Regions from separate parts of the Homo sapiens genome. Here region 2 is linked to region 1. Evidence: promoter capture Hi-C in human tissues and cell types (Jung and others, 2019). All regions are on one chromosome and are shown on one strand. The core of a region is centred on a gene start or on the middle of the fragment in contact, and the rest is flanking DNA. Distances in the headings are between cores, read along the strand shown. Region 1 holds the start of VPREB1 (V-set pre-B cell surrogate light chain 1). Region 2 has its middle 110 kb from the start of VPREB1.

What was found. Contacts are between HindIII fragments. The study calls those that stand out against the background at their distance.
Region 2: a contact is called between a fragment that was not itself captured here and the fragment with the promoter of VPREB1 in region 1, in 2 of the 25 tissues and cell types used here (dorsolateral prefrontal cortex and mesendoderm cells).

The regions. Positions count from the first base shown.
Region 1 is chr22:22,241,617-22,247,952 of GRCh38, reverse strand. VPREB1 (V-set pre-B cell surrogate light chain 1) reads right to left here and starts at 3,167. Exons shown (of 2, transcript NM_007128.4): 1 at 3,094-3,167; 2 at 2,438-3,007. The coding sequence starts at 3,139. The coding sequence ends at 2,616. It also overlaps IGL. The HindIII fragment of the contact is 13,267 bases long and covers 1-6,336 here.
Region 2 is chr22:22,130,623-22,136,958 of GRCh38, reverse strand. It overlaps IGL. Among named protein-coding and RNA genes, the nearest start is that of VPREB1, 110 kb to the left of the region's middle. The HindIII fragment of the contact is 6,305 bases long and covers 945-6,336 here.

The DNA of each region.
Region 1 (6,336 bases), core at 1,918-4,417:
AAGTTAATCAGTTCTATGATTATCCCCTTTACATGCAACATTGGAAATGTTGGCTTAGATTTTAAGTGACTCCTCCAGAGCTAAGACTCACACTCAGTCTGGCCTCAAGCCTGAGTTCCAGGTCTCATTTTCCATTGAGCTGGTGGGGTGGGGGCATGAGGATGATACAGGAGTCCAACTCAGCTCCCGGCTTTCTAGATCTCTTCTCATAGCATGGAATCCCAGAATCATGAAGGATGGAGGCAAGAGAGGGACGGGTTACAAGCAGAAGACAGAGTTCCTCTGGAACCATCTAGCTGGTCTTTAAAACTGTGGGCCATGGCCAGGTGCAGTGACTCACACGTGTAGTTCAGCCACTCAGCAGGCTGAGACAGGAGGATCGCTGGAGCCCAGGAGTTCAAGGCTGTAGAGCATCATGAATTGAACCTGTGAATAGCCACAGCAGTCCAGCCTGGGCAGCATAGCAAGATCCTATCTCTAAAATAAAATAATAAACAAGTAAATAATAATGTTTTAAAATGTGGGCCTGGCCCAGGGGTAAAAGCCTGATGCAGGAAGAACCCAGTGCATAGAGTATGGCATAAGCTGAGATCACTGTCTCTTTTTTTTTTTTTTTTTTTTTTTGTGAGATGGAGTCTCGCTCTGTCACCCAGGCTGGAGTGCAGTGGCATGATCTCGGCTCACTGCAACCTCTGCCTCCTGGGTTCAAGCAATTCTCCTGCCTCAGCCTCCCAAGTAGCTGGGATTACGGGCATGTGCCAACACACCCAGCTAATTTTTGTATTTTTAGTAGAGATGAGATTTCACCATGTTGGGTAGGCTGGTCTCTAACTCCTGACCTCAGGTGATCCACCCGCCTCGGCCTCCCAAAGTGCTGGAGACCACTGTTTAACAAGAGAGGGACTCATGACCACACATGGAACGCTGATACTGACATGTGTCCACCTCTCTGGGGAGATGCCTCAGGATCTTTTTAGCTGGGGTGAATGCACGTTCCCAGGCAAGTTGGGGTTACAAGGGAGATGGTTTGCCCGGCACCTCTCTGAGTGAGGCATGTCTACAGGTTGTGTGAACACCCAATGTAGAGAGTCCCTCTCCGCAAGGCACACTCAGACCCACCACCCACGGGCTCAGGGGGCCTTGCTGTGGGCCGGGGCTGCAGGGAGCTCCCCATTGCTACTTCACCCAGACAGTCCAACACAGTCTCAGTGAGACCACGTCCTTCATGCCTCTAGGTATCTCCATGGGTCCAGAGGCTTCTGCCTGGGGTCACAGGCAAGATAAGTTGAGGGGGGACTCTGATTATCCCACCAAGCATGGCTTGCTTAAAACCTGGAGACAGGAGCTGGAGTGCTCCCGAGCAGGGCTCAGCAAACTACAGCCTGGGCGCCATACCCAGCCCAGTGTAGCCCCATCTGTTTCTGTAAATACAGCTTTATAAGAACACAGCCATGCCTCTTTGTTGACATGTTTGTCTGTGGCTGCTTTCTTGCTACTAGGACAGAATTGAACAGTTGTGACAGAGATCGCATAGCCCACAAAGCCAAAAATATTTACCACCTGGCTCTTTATAGAAAATGGGCTGGGTGCAGTGGCTCACGCCTCTAATCCCAGCACTTTAGGAGGCCCAAGCAGGGGGATCACTCGAGCTCAGGAGTTTGAGATCAGCTTGAGCAACATAGTGAGACATTCATCTCTCCAAAAATAAAACTAAATAAATAGCCAAGCATGGTGATGCACGCCTGTAGTCTCAGCTGCTCAGGAGGCTGAGACAGGACAATCACTTGAGCCTGGGAGTTTGAAGCTGCGGTGAGCTATGATTGCACCACTGCACTCCAGCCTGGACCACAGAGCAAGACTTTATCCCTAAAAAAAGGAAAAAAAGAACATGTTTGCCGACACCTGCCACTCTCTTGTACAAATAAGTAAATGCATTTACTTGCTCATCTAGACCAGTGGTTCACAATCAGTGTGAGTTTACCACCTGGGGACATTTGGCAATGTCTGGAGACATTTTTGTTTGTCACAACTGGGAAGGGGCATCTGGTGGGTAGAGGCCACAGATAACCACTCACCATTCAACAATCCGCAGGACAGCCCCACAACCAAGAACTGTCCAGCCCAAAACGTCGATAGGACCAAGGTGGAGAACCCACTCTAGGCCTATTACCTGGCTCCTGTTCTCCCTGGAGGCCCAGACCAGGTGCTTTCTAAGCTTGTTTGCCCTGTAACCGCTGGGCAGAATCAGATGACACCAGAGGGTCCTGTCCTGGGCATGGATGCCCCTCCAGGGTGCTTCGGTCAACCCCTTGCCTCCCATGGCCCACAAAAGTAAGGACTCAGGTGAGTGCTCACCACAGTGATCTGCCAGTCTCCCGGGGCCCCGGGCCTTTGCCCAAGGCTGGTACTACGAAGTCGCACAACAGTCAGACCAAACTCAGCAAAAAGTGACAAGCAGCTTTAATTCCCTAATGCAGTCTCCAATGGGGATTTACAGCAACACTGCAGGACCAGGAGATGCTGAGTGGCTCAGCCTCCTCGGCGCTTCGGGCGGCGACTCCACCCTCTTCCATGACAGTCTCTCCAAGGGGATGCGTGCCTCTGCTGTCTTCAGTTCAAGGGACACGTGTCCTGGCTGCAGTGGGTTCCATTTCTTCCTCCCACTCCCTCTCCCTCTCCTCCTTCTCCGAGCTGCGGGCCCCCATAGCACAGTAATACATAGCCTCGTCCTCAGGCTGCAGCTCAGAGATGCTCAAATACCCCCTGTTCCTGGCCACATCTTTGGATCCAGAGAAGCGAGGGGGGACCTGGGGGCCCTGGCTCTTGTCTGATTGTGAGAAATATCTCAGCAGGAACCTGGGAGGGTGGCCCGGCCTCTGCTGGTACCAGTAGACGCTGTACACACCGATGTCATGGTCGTTCCTCAGGGTGCAGGTGAGGCGGATTGTGGTTCCAAGGGCCGAGGACATGGCCGGCGGCTGATGCAGCACCGGCTGAGGACCACAACCTGGTGACACAGATGCATGTGGGCCGTGGGGGCAGGGCAGGATGAAGGAAGGGGCAGGAGTCTTTGGGATCTGGGGGTTCCCTCACCTGTGCAGTAGACAAACAGCATGAGCAGGACAGGAGCCCAGGACATGGTGCAGACATGCAGAGCTCTGACTCCTGTGGCCACGGTGCCTGGGGTCCCCAAGGGCTGGCCCAGCATCCTCCTCCCTGCTCTGAGAGGTGGGGCCGTGGCACACCCCGTTCCTGGCCACTACCATCCCAGACTTTCTTGGGTCTGCAACGTCGGTTACCGGAACAGCGTCGGGGCAGCATTTGTGGCTCTGATCTTGCCATATGGAAGCATTCAGGGAGGAAGCACCTGCTGGAGACTCTGGGGCCAGTGCCCTGGAGGCCTTTGGGTTAAGGTACCTCAGGGGTCGTGACCTCAACTTCCCCCTGAGGAAACCGCACCCCAGATAAATAAATTTTCTGTCTACATTTAAATGCTTGGTGAGCCAGGAAGGGAGGACACATCCTCGGGGGGTGAAAACACCTGCTTTGTACAGCAGAAGACACTGGGGGCCCAGAGCGGGTTGGGATGTTCTGCCCCTTCCATGTTGCAGCACTGCCTTCGGCCCATGCTCCTCTCCCTACTAGAACCAAGTAGAGTGACTCAGGCATGGGAAAGAAGCACCAGGGCCTGGTGCCTTCCCCACCCCTGTTCTGGCTCACCGAGCAGGTGCAGCTTGGCACTGTGATAGACTGAATTGCATCCCCCAAATCCATAGGTTGAAGCCCTAACCCCCAGTGTGCCTGTATTTGGAGATAGGGCCTTTAAGGAGTTAATGAAGGTTAGATGAGGTCATAGAGGTGGGGCCCCGGTCAGTACAACTGGTGTCCTTATAAAAAGGGGAAATTTGGGAGCCGGATGCAGTGTCTCACACCTATAATCCCAGCACTTTGGGAGGCCAAGGTGGGAGGATCACTTGAGCTCAGGAGTTCGAGTCTAGCCTGAGCAACATGGCAAAACCCCATCTCTACAAAAAAAATTTAAAAATTAGCTGGTCATGGCGGACAGGCACCTGCAGTCCCAACTACTTGGGAGGCTGAGGTGGGAAAATCACTTGAGCTTGGGAGGTTGAGTTGAGGCTGCAGCAAGCCAAGATCTCACCACTGCCCTCCAGCCTGGCCAACAGAGGGAGACCCTGCCTCAAAAAAAAAATGAGAATAAAAATAATACATTAAATGTATGTTTGCATACTACCTGCAAGATTTAAAAAAAAATTAAGGGGAAATTTGGACTTAAAGTCTCTGATCCCACATGCTCACCCTCCCTCAAAAAGCTGGAGTGTCTCCTCCCCTGGAACCTGTGCAGGCCTGTGATCAAGGCTGAAGTGTCCCTGGGTGCACGAGGTGGCACTGAGCAGCTGGGTGTGCACTGGGACTGTTTACTTGCAAACACTTTGATAGAGCAACCACCCCTGAGGCTCAGATGAGCCCCTGCTCGGTGTCAAGCTGCCCCACATCCATTCTCTGCCTGGTGAGGTGCAGGCTGCACCAGTTTCAGCCCGCAGGGTCGACTCTGGGAGCCCCACCCTTCTTCCCACTGCCTCTCTGGCCAACAGCTCCACTGCCCAGGTGAGGGCTGGGGAGGGCCTCTGCAGACACAGGATGTCTTGACCACTCTGTCCAGTAACAGCTGCAACCACATCTATGACCTGTTGCTCCTCCCTCCTCTGCACAGGCTGGTGGGCAGTGGGGAACTAACCAGTGACTGCTGACTCCTGGAGAGGAGAAAGGAAGCTTTTTTCACTCATTCATTCATTTATTCCCTCATCCAGTAGCTCATTCATGTGTTGTGCACGTATTTGTGAAAGAGAAATATACCTCCCAGACCCCTCCGAGAGCACCAGTCCTTGGGAATCAGGGCAGGAGAAGGTTCCACCTGTGGGCACCAGCACTACTGCAGTCCCTGAACTAGCCCTACCACTGACACTGTCAGAGCTTTTTGATCCTTTTAAGCTCAGAGAGGATAGGTGTTTCTACTTGCTCTTACAATTATACTTAGAGAGCAAATAAGCCCAGCCCTCAACCGTAGAGACACTCTGGTCCCAACTTTCTTTCACAGGCTTCACTGACCCAGGACCTTTGCATCACTCACAGAGCAAGATAGTATCCAGTGGTGACTGTGCGTGCTGGGGAATGACTGGGCCTTCCAGACCCTGCTGGAGATGGTCTCAGACCCCTGGAGCATCTAGAGTTAGATGCAGGTCATGCACTCTGAACTCTGCATTCTCCTGGCCCTGGGCCACTCTTCCCACCTCTGTTCCCTCAGCCTTGTCCTCAACCCACCAACACCTGGACTCAGGGATCATCTGCAGGGCACAGCAGTTTGATGGGATTGAAGAACACCATGTATTCAGTCCTTTCTGGCTGCACTCAACTCTTTTTAGATAATTCTAGACCAAGAGAAGGTTGGTGAGCTCTGTAACAGACCTCAAGGTCTACAAGGGTCTCAGGGGAGACAGGAGCTATTCAGTGCTCCTGCCTGGTTTGTAGATTTTTTTTTTTTTTTAGAGACAAGGTTTCACTCTGTTGTCCAGGCTGGAGTGTAGCGGTGCAGTCACAGCTCACTGCAGCCTCGAACTCCTGGGCTCAAACAATTCTCCTGTCCCAGCCTCCCAAGTAGCTGGGACTACAAGCACATGCTACCACACCCAGCTAATTTTTTTTACTTTTTGTGGAGACAGGGTCTTGCCATTTTGCTCAAGGCTGGTCTCAAATTCCTGCGTTCGAGAGATCCTCCTGCCTCAGCTTCCTAAAATGCTGGGATTACAGGTGTGAGCTACCCACCGCACGCCCGGCTGAATAGATATTTTAAACTGTTTCAGCGATCCACTGCTACGTGGCAAACCACCCGTAATGTAGTCATTTAAAACAAGACTTGATTAGTTCCCCAGTTCTGTGAGTTGCCTGGGTGGTTCTTCTGGTTCCACCTACAATCATGCATGTGGTTATGGTCATTGATGGCTGGACCACCTGCACTGGAGGTCTATCCAAGATTGCACTTCATTCTCCTACACATGGCTCTGATATTAGCAAGCTCTCACCCTCGGTGGTCTAGTGGTCCCTCTGGTCACCCATTCGTCCCATCTCCTTTCCTCCTCCCTCATGTCAGGGTCCCCCAGTCCCCGTCTCCCTCATTTCACATCCGAAGGCATGCTTACCTAGTGCCTTTCCACCCCTCTGCTCTCACATGGTGCTAAGCCAGGCTCGCACCAGTCTCCTTGTCACCACAGGACCTTTGCCCGTGATCCCAATGCCAGGATGAATTCCAGTCCCTCAGAA
Region 2 (6,336 bases), core at 2,848-5,347, 110 kb after region 1:
CTCAATAGGTTTGGAAACATCACTTCTTACATTCTACCAAAAGAGTGTTTCAACTTTGGTGAATCAAAACACAGGGACCAGTCTGTGACATAAAACAGCACTTCACAATGCATTTTCACATATAGCTTGTTTCTAGTTTTTAAGACTGAATATCCATATGTTCCTATAAGGGCTTAACAGGTTTGGAAATTTCACTTCTTAGATTCTACAGAAAGAGTGTTTGAAAATTCATTCTGTGATGTAAAATAGCACATAACATTGCATTTTCAGAGATAGGTTTTTCTTCTCATTTTTAGGAGTGGATACTTGTATGTTCGTCTAAGAGCTCAATAAGCTCAGAAATGTCACTTTTTATATTCTAGAAAAAGTGTTTAGAACTTGCTAAATCAAAACGTAGTTTCCATTTTGTGACATAAAACATCACGTCACAAAGCATCTTCAGAGATAACTTGTTTCTAGTTTTTGGGGATGGATATTTTTACTTTTTTAATAAAAGTTCAATAGGTTTGGAAACAGCACTTCTTAGATTCTACATCAAGAGTGTTTTGAACTTGTTGAATCAACACAGGAACCGTTCTGTGACATAAAACTGCATGTCCCAAAGCATTTTTACAGGTAGCTTGTTTCTAGTTTTTTGGGACTGGATTTTGCATTTTTTTTGTAAGAACTCAATTGACTTGGAAATGTCACTTCTTAGATTCTACAGAAAGAGTGTTTGGAAGCTGTTTCATCAAAACTCTGGTTCCATTATTTGATATAAAAAAATACATCACAAAGCATTTTCGACAGATAGCTTGTTTCTCGTTTTTAGGGTTATTCATATTTTTTATAAAACTCAATAGGTTTGGTGACATCACTTCTTAGATTATACAAAAAGAGTGTCTCACAGTTGTTGAATCAAAACACAGGTACCATTCTCTGACATAAAACAGCATATCACAAATGGTTATCACAGATAGCTTGTTTCTAGTTTTTAGGACTGGATTATGTATATGTTCCCATAAGGCCTCACTGCCTTAGAAACATCACTTCTTAAGAGTCTACAAAAAAAGTGTTTGGAAACTGTTTAATCAGTATACAGGTTCAATTTTGTGATATGAAACAGCAAAAAGTGTTTTCGCTGATAGCTTGTTTCTAGTTTTTATAGCTGGATATTTGTATTTTCTTATAAGGGCTCAATAAGGTCAAAAACGTCACTTCTTAGATTCTACAAAGAGTTCAGAACTTGCTGAAACAAAACACAGGTTCCATTCTGTGACATAAAATAGCACATCACAAAGTGTTTTTACAGATAGCTTGTTTCTAGTTTTTATTACAAGATATTCATACGTTACTGTAAATGCTCAATAGATTCGAAATGTCACTTCTTAGATTCTACAAAAAGAGAGTTGGGAACGTGTTTTTATCAAAATGCAGGTTCAATTCTGTGTTATAAAACTGCACGTCAAAAAGTGTTTTCCAAGATAGCTTGTTTGTAGACTTTAGGACTGGATGTTTGTATGTTCCTATAAGGTCACAATAGGCTCAGAAATGTCACTTCTTAAGATTCTACAATAGTGTTTTGAATCTGTTTCATCAAAACATAAGTTCATTTCTGTGATATAAAGCATCACATCACAAAGTGTGTTGACAGATAGCTTGTTTCCAGCAGTTAGGGCTAAATATTCATGTTTTCTTATTATGGCTCAAAAGGTTTGGATACATCACTTTTTTAGATTCTACAAAAAGAGTGTTTGGAACCTGTCTCACAAAAACACAGGTTTAATTCTGTGTTATGAAACAGCATAGCAAAAAGTATTTTCAGTCAGGCATGGTGGCTCACGTCTGTAATCCCAGCACTTTGGGAGGCTGAGGCAGGCGGATCACGAGGTCAACAGATCAAGACCATCCTGGCCAACATGGTGAAACCACATCTCTACTAAAAATACAAAAATTAGCTGGGCGTGGTGGTGCACGCCTGTAGTCCCAGCTGCTAGGGAGGCTAACGTAGGAGACTTGCTTGAACCCAGGAGGCAGAAGTTGCAGTGAGCCGAGATCACACCACTGCACTCCAGCTTGGCAACACAGCAAGACTCTGTGCCAAAAAAAAAAAAAAAAAGCATTTTCACAGATAGCATGTTAGGACTAAATATTCATATTTTCTTATAAGGGCTCAATAGGTTTGGAAATGTCACTACTTAGATCCTACAAAGAGTGCGTTGAACTTGCTCAATCAAAACAAAGTTTCCAATCTGTGACACTAACAGATCAGAAAGCGTTTCCACGCATTGCTTGTTTCTAGTTTTTAGAGGAAAATATTCGTATTTTCTTTTAAAGGCCTCAGAGGTTTGGGAATGTCACTTCTCAGATTCTACCAAAAGAATGTGTTGAACCTATTGAATTAAAACACAGGTTTCATTCCGTGACATAAAATAGCACATCCCAAAGCATTTTGACAGATAGCTTGTTTCTAGCTTTTAAAACTGTATGTTTGTATAAGGGCTCAATAGGCTCAGAAATGCCACTTCATAAATTCTACAAAAAAAAGTGTTCAGAACCTGTTTAATCAACACACAGGTTCAACTTTATGATACAAAACAGAACATCACAATGCATTTGCACGGATGGCTTGTTTCTAGTTTTTAGGACTGAATATTTCTATTTTTTAATAAGGGCTCAAGAAGTTCCAAAACGTTACTTCTTAGATTCTACAAAATGAGTAATTTCAACTTGTTCAATCAAAACACAAGTTCAATTTTATGATATAAAACAGCACCTCACAAAGCATTCCACAGATAGCTTATAGCTTATTTCTAGTTTTTACAACTGGATATTCATATTTTCTTATGAAAGCTCAATAGGATCAAAATAATCAATTCTTAGATTCCACAAAAAGAGTGTTTTGAACTTGCTGAATCAAAACACAGGTTGCATTCTGTGACATAAAACAGCACATCAAAAAGCATTTTCACAAATAGCTTTTCTATAGTCTTTGTTTGTTTGAGACAGAGTTTCGCTCTTGTTGCCCAGGCTGGAGTGCAATGGCGCGATCTCGGCTCACTGCAACCTCGGCCTCCCAGGTTCAAGCAATTCTCCCACCTCAGCTAGGAACTCCATCAAACAAACCTGCCTCCCATTTTATTTCTAAATAAGATAACTATTATTTGGCTTAGTGGGGTGTCCCGGAGATTTATTTTCCTTTAACAAAGGATATGAAATTATCCTGCTCTGCTCACTATAACTTTTCTGTATTGAAACATCACTATGTCCCTGTGAGTATATACAATTATTTGTCAATAAAGAAAAAAAAAACCCAAATAATAAAATAAAAAAATAACTACAAAGATTTCGAAAGCTATATACCTCCCTCATAATTTGTCAGAAAGGAAATTTCTTGTGGGCCTCAAGATCTTTACACTAAAACAGTTCTGTTGAATTTGACCCTGGCAATATAAATTGGCAATTGATAGATTATCTTTACAGGTGGGGGACAAAGGACAGAACCCAAAGTCATCCCTCTCCTCACCTGAGACAAATGTGTATCTGATTGGCTTTCTCTGCCCAGTTTTTTATGTAAAAATGCAGATTCACTAAGCCAGACTCAGGCATAAGTGACTATTCCTCTATGGCATCTTGCATGTAAATTGTGTATTCAGTGAAAGGATAATCAGAAACTCAAAAGAATGCAACCGTTTGTCTCCTATTTACCTATGAACTGGAAGCACCCACCCCCAACCCTGCTTCAACTTGTCTCACCTTTCTAGAGAGAAGCAATGTACATCTTACACATATTACACTGAAGTGTAATAAAATGTAACAAAGAGAAGTTTTCAGCCTAATGAGCTAAATAATTTTTAAAAAGTGGAAACTGGGTTCAAAGAAATTCAGTAATTATATTAAATGACACCAATAATGTGAGCTCGATTTAAGAGTACCCAGCAACACTTAAATTCTTATGAAAGCAAATGCTCTATTGGTTCCGTTGGCTTTGTTGATTACATATCCACTAAGGTATTAAAAATATTCAGCACCTTAGTGACCAGTGACCCCACTCCTGAGTTTCTAATTTGAACAACTTCTAAATATCCAAATCATATTTTTAAGTAATATAGTACCCGGAAATCAAAGATTAAATCTAAGCTACACTTAAGCTTGATCACTTCTCCTTTATTACAGTTAGAAACATTCTTTGTTTTATAAATTTTTACTTATTTTGAGACAGGGTCTCACTCTGTTATCCAGGCTGGATGGAGTGCAGTGGCACGATCTCGGCTCACTATACCCTTGACCTCCCAGGCTCAAGCGATTCTCCTGCCTCAGTCCCCCAAGTATCTCAGACTGCAAACACATGCCACCACGCCCGGCTTATTTTTATCGTTTTTGTAAACATGGGTTTCGCCATGTTGCCCATGCTGGTCTTGAACTGTTGAGCTCAAGCAATCCACCCGCCTTGTCCTCCCAAAGTGCTGGGATCATAGGTGTGAGCCATTACGCCAAGCCTTTATTTTTGTCTGTCCTATTATGTAGCCCTTTACTGTTTTCCAGAGAGGTGAAGTATTTTGCACATATGCATTATGTCTCCGAAATGTCATTACGCTAGCACAAAAAAACTGAGATGAACTCATAATTTATAGTATTGCCTCAACCCGAATATCTATACAATTTTGAAAACATTCACCCTAGCGACTATTAAAACTAACTTGAATAAGAAACAGTAAACTACTAGTATGTGATATTATCTTTCAAACACTTCTAAAAGTATAAGCAATGTATGAGGAAATGGGGTACAGTTTGGTGTCTCTCCCCAACTCCACATACATACCAGGATCTGGGGGAAAAAAAGCTGTCCTTAGAGAATGATATTATTTAAATCAACATGTAATTGGCAGAGCTAGTGTATGTCCCATGACCTGTGGACCCATCTACTTTACTGTAGATTAGTTAATGCTAATGTTGCCACAAGTGAAGAAGAATGCATCATGGGATGCTCATCAAGAAATATGCAACCCCTGCTGACACAGCTCCCTACATGTCACCTTCTCTATTGCACATGCAACATTGATGTAGGAATTAAAAAGAAATTATTTAGGCAGATACTGAAAGTAAGGAAGTCCTAGTGTAAAGTTTTCCTACTAATGAAAAAAAAAACCCATATCATTTATTTTCTAACAAAGAGCATCTTGTAAAATTGGGCTGCAGACATTGATAAGCTCTCATAGGAATGCCAGCAGCTGTGCCAATAGGAAAAGGCTACCTGTGGGCCAGGCATGTTCAACATGGTGGCTCCATCTTCCCTTTTCTCTGTCAACCACAGGTACAGTAAGGAACAGACAATATGGTCCTGGTAAGGTAAAGAACCCATCTGCATAATAAAAGATTAGGGTGCAATGGCCAGCTTCTCCCTGTGCTATGCAAACGTTCACACCTGGTCCAACCAGTCTCTAGAGCCCTGTGTAAATCAAGACACCACCTCCTCAAGCTCCTTTATAAAACCTTGTGCTTTTCACCACAAAACCGGAAGACCCACTCAGGTGCCCCTCTCTCTTTCTGCAGGAGAGAGAGCTGTTCTCTTTTCTCTTTCTTTCACCTATTAATCATCCACTCTTGAACTCACTTCTTGTGTGTCCACATCCCTGATTTCCCTGGTGTGAGATGACAAACCTCAGGTATTACCCCAGACAAACAATGCTGCCTCAACATTCTTTCAAATCTCAATTCAATTGTGTTGTTTCAGAAAAAGCCATTGTTCAGGGGTCCACAAACTATACCCTGCAGTCAAAATGTGGCCCACCACTTGTTTCTGTAAATAAAGTTTATTGGAACACAGCGCCATTCACTCATTTAAACATTACTGATGCTGCCTTGGTATGACTTCAGAGTTTAGTTGTCAGAGACCACATGCTGAGCAAACCTGAAAATAGTTACTATTTCATCCTTTACAGGAAATGTTTGCTGATCTCTGAATTCCAATGTAATTTTCCTGTATATAAGATAAAAGATTTTGGTTCTAAAACAAAATATTAAGTCCATCTTTAAGCTATCATATATTGAAAAGGACTATACATTTTACAGCAAACATACAGGGAATAAGGCAAGCTAATGTGAGTCTATAACAAGATTGCATTGCATATAATTAAAGAAGAACAACATTTGTTACAATCTAATATATGAACTATAATTTTTAAAATTTACATAGGATGCTGGTAGAGCAGGATTATTTACAGGACACATGAGTAGATTGAGCCTTTATAAAGAAGAAAGTGCTCAAAGGCTTTAGAGGTACCTAGCACCAGCAACACATTATGTTTTATTTCACTCTTAATAAGCTTGTCTCCAATCTGACAATTAAGAGGAAGT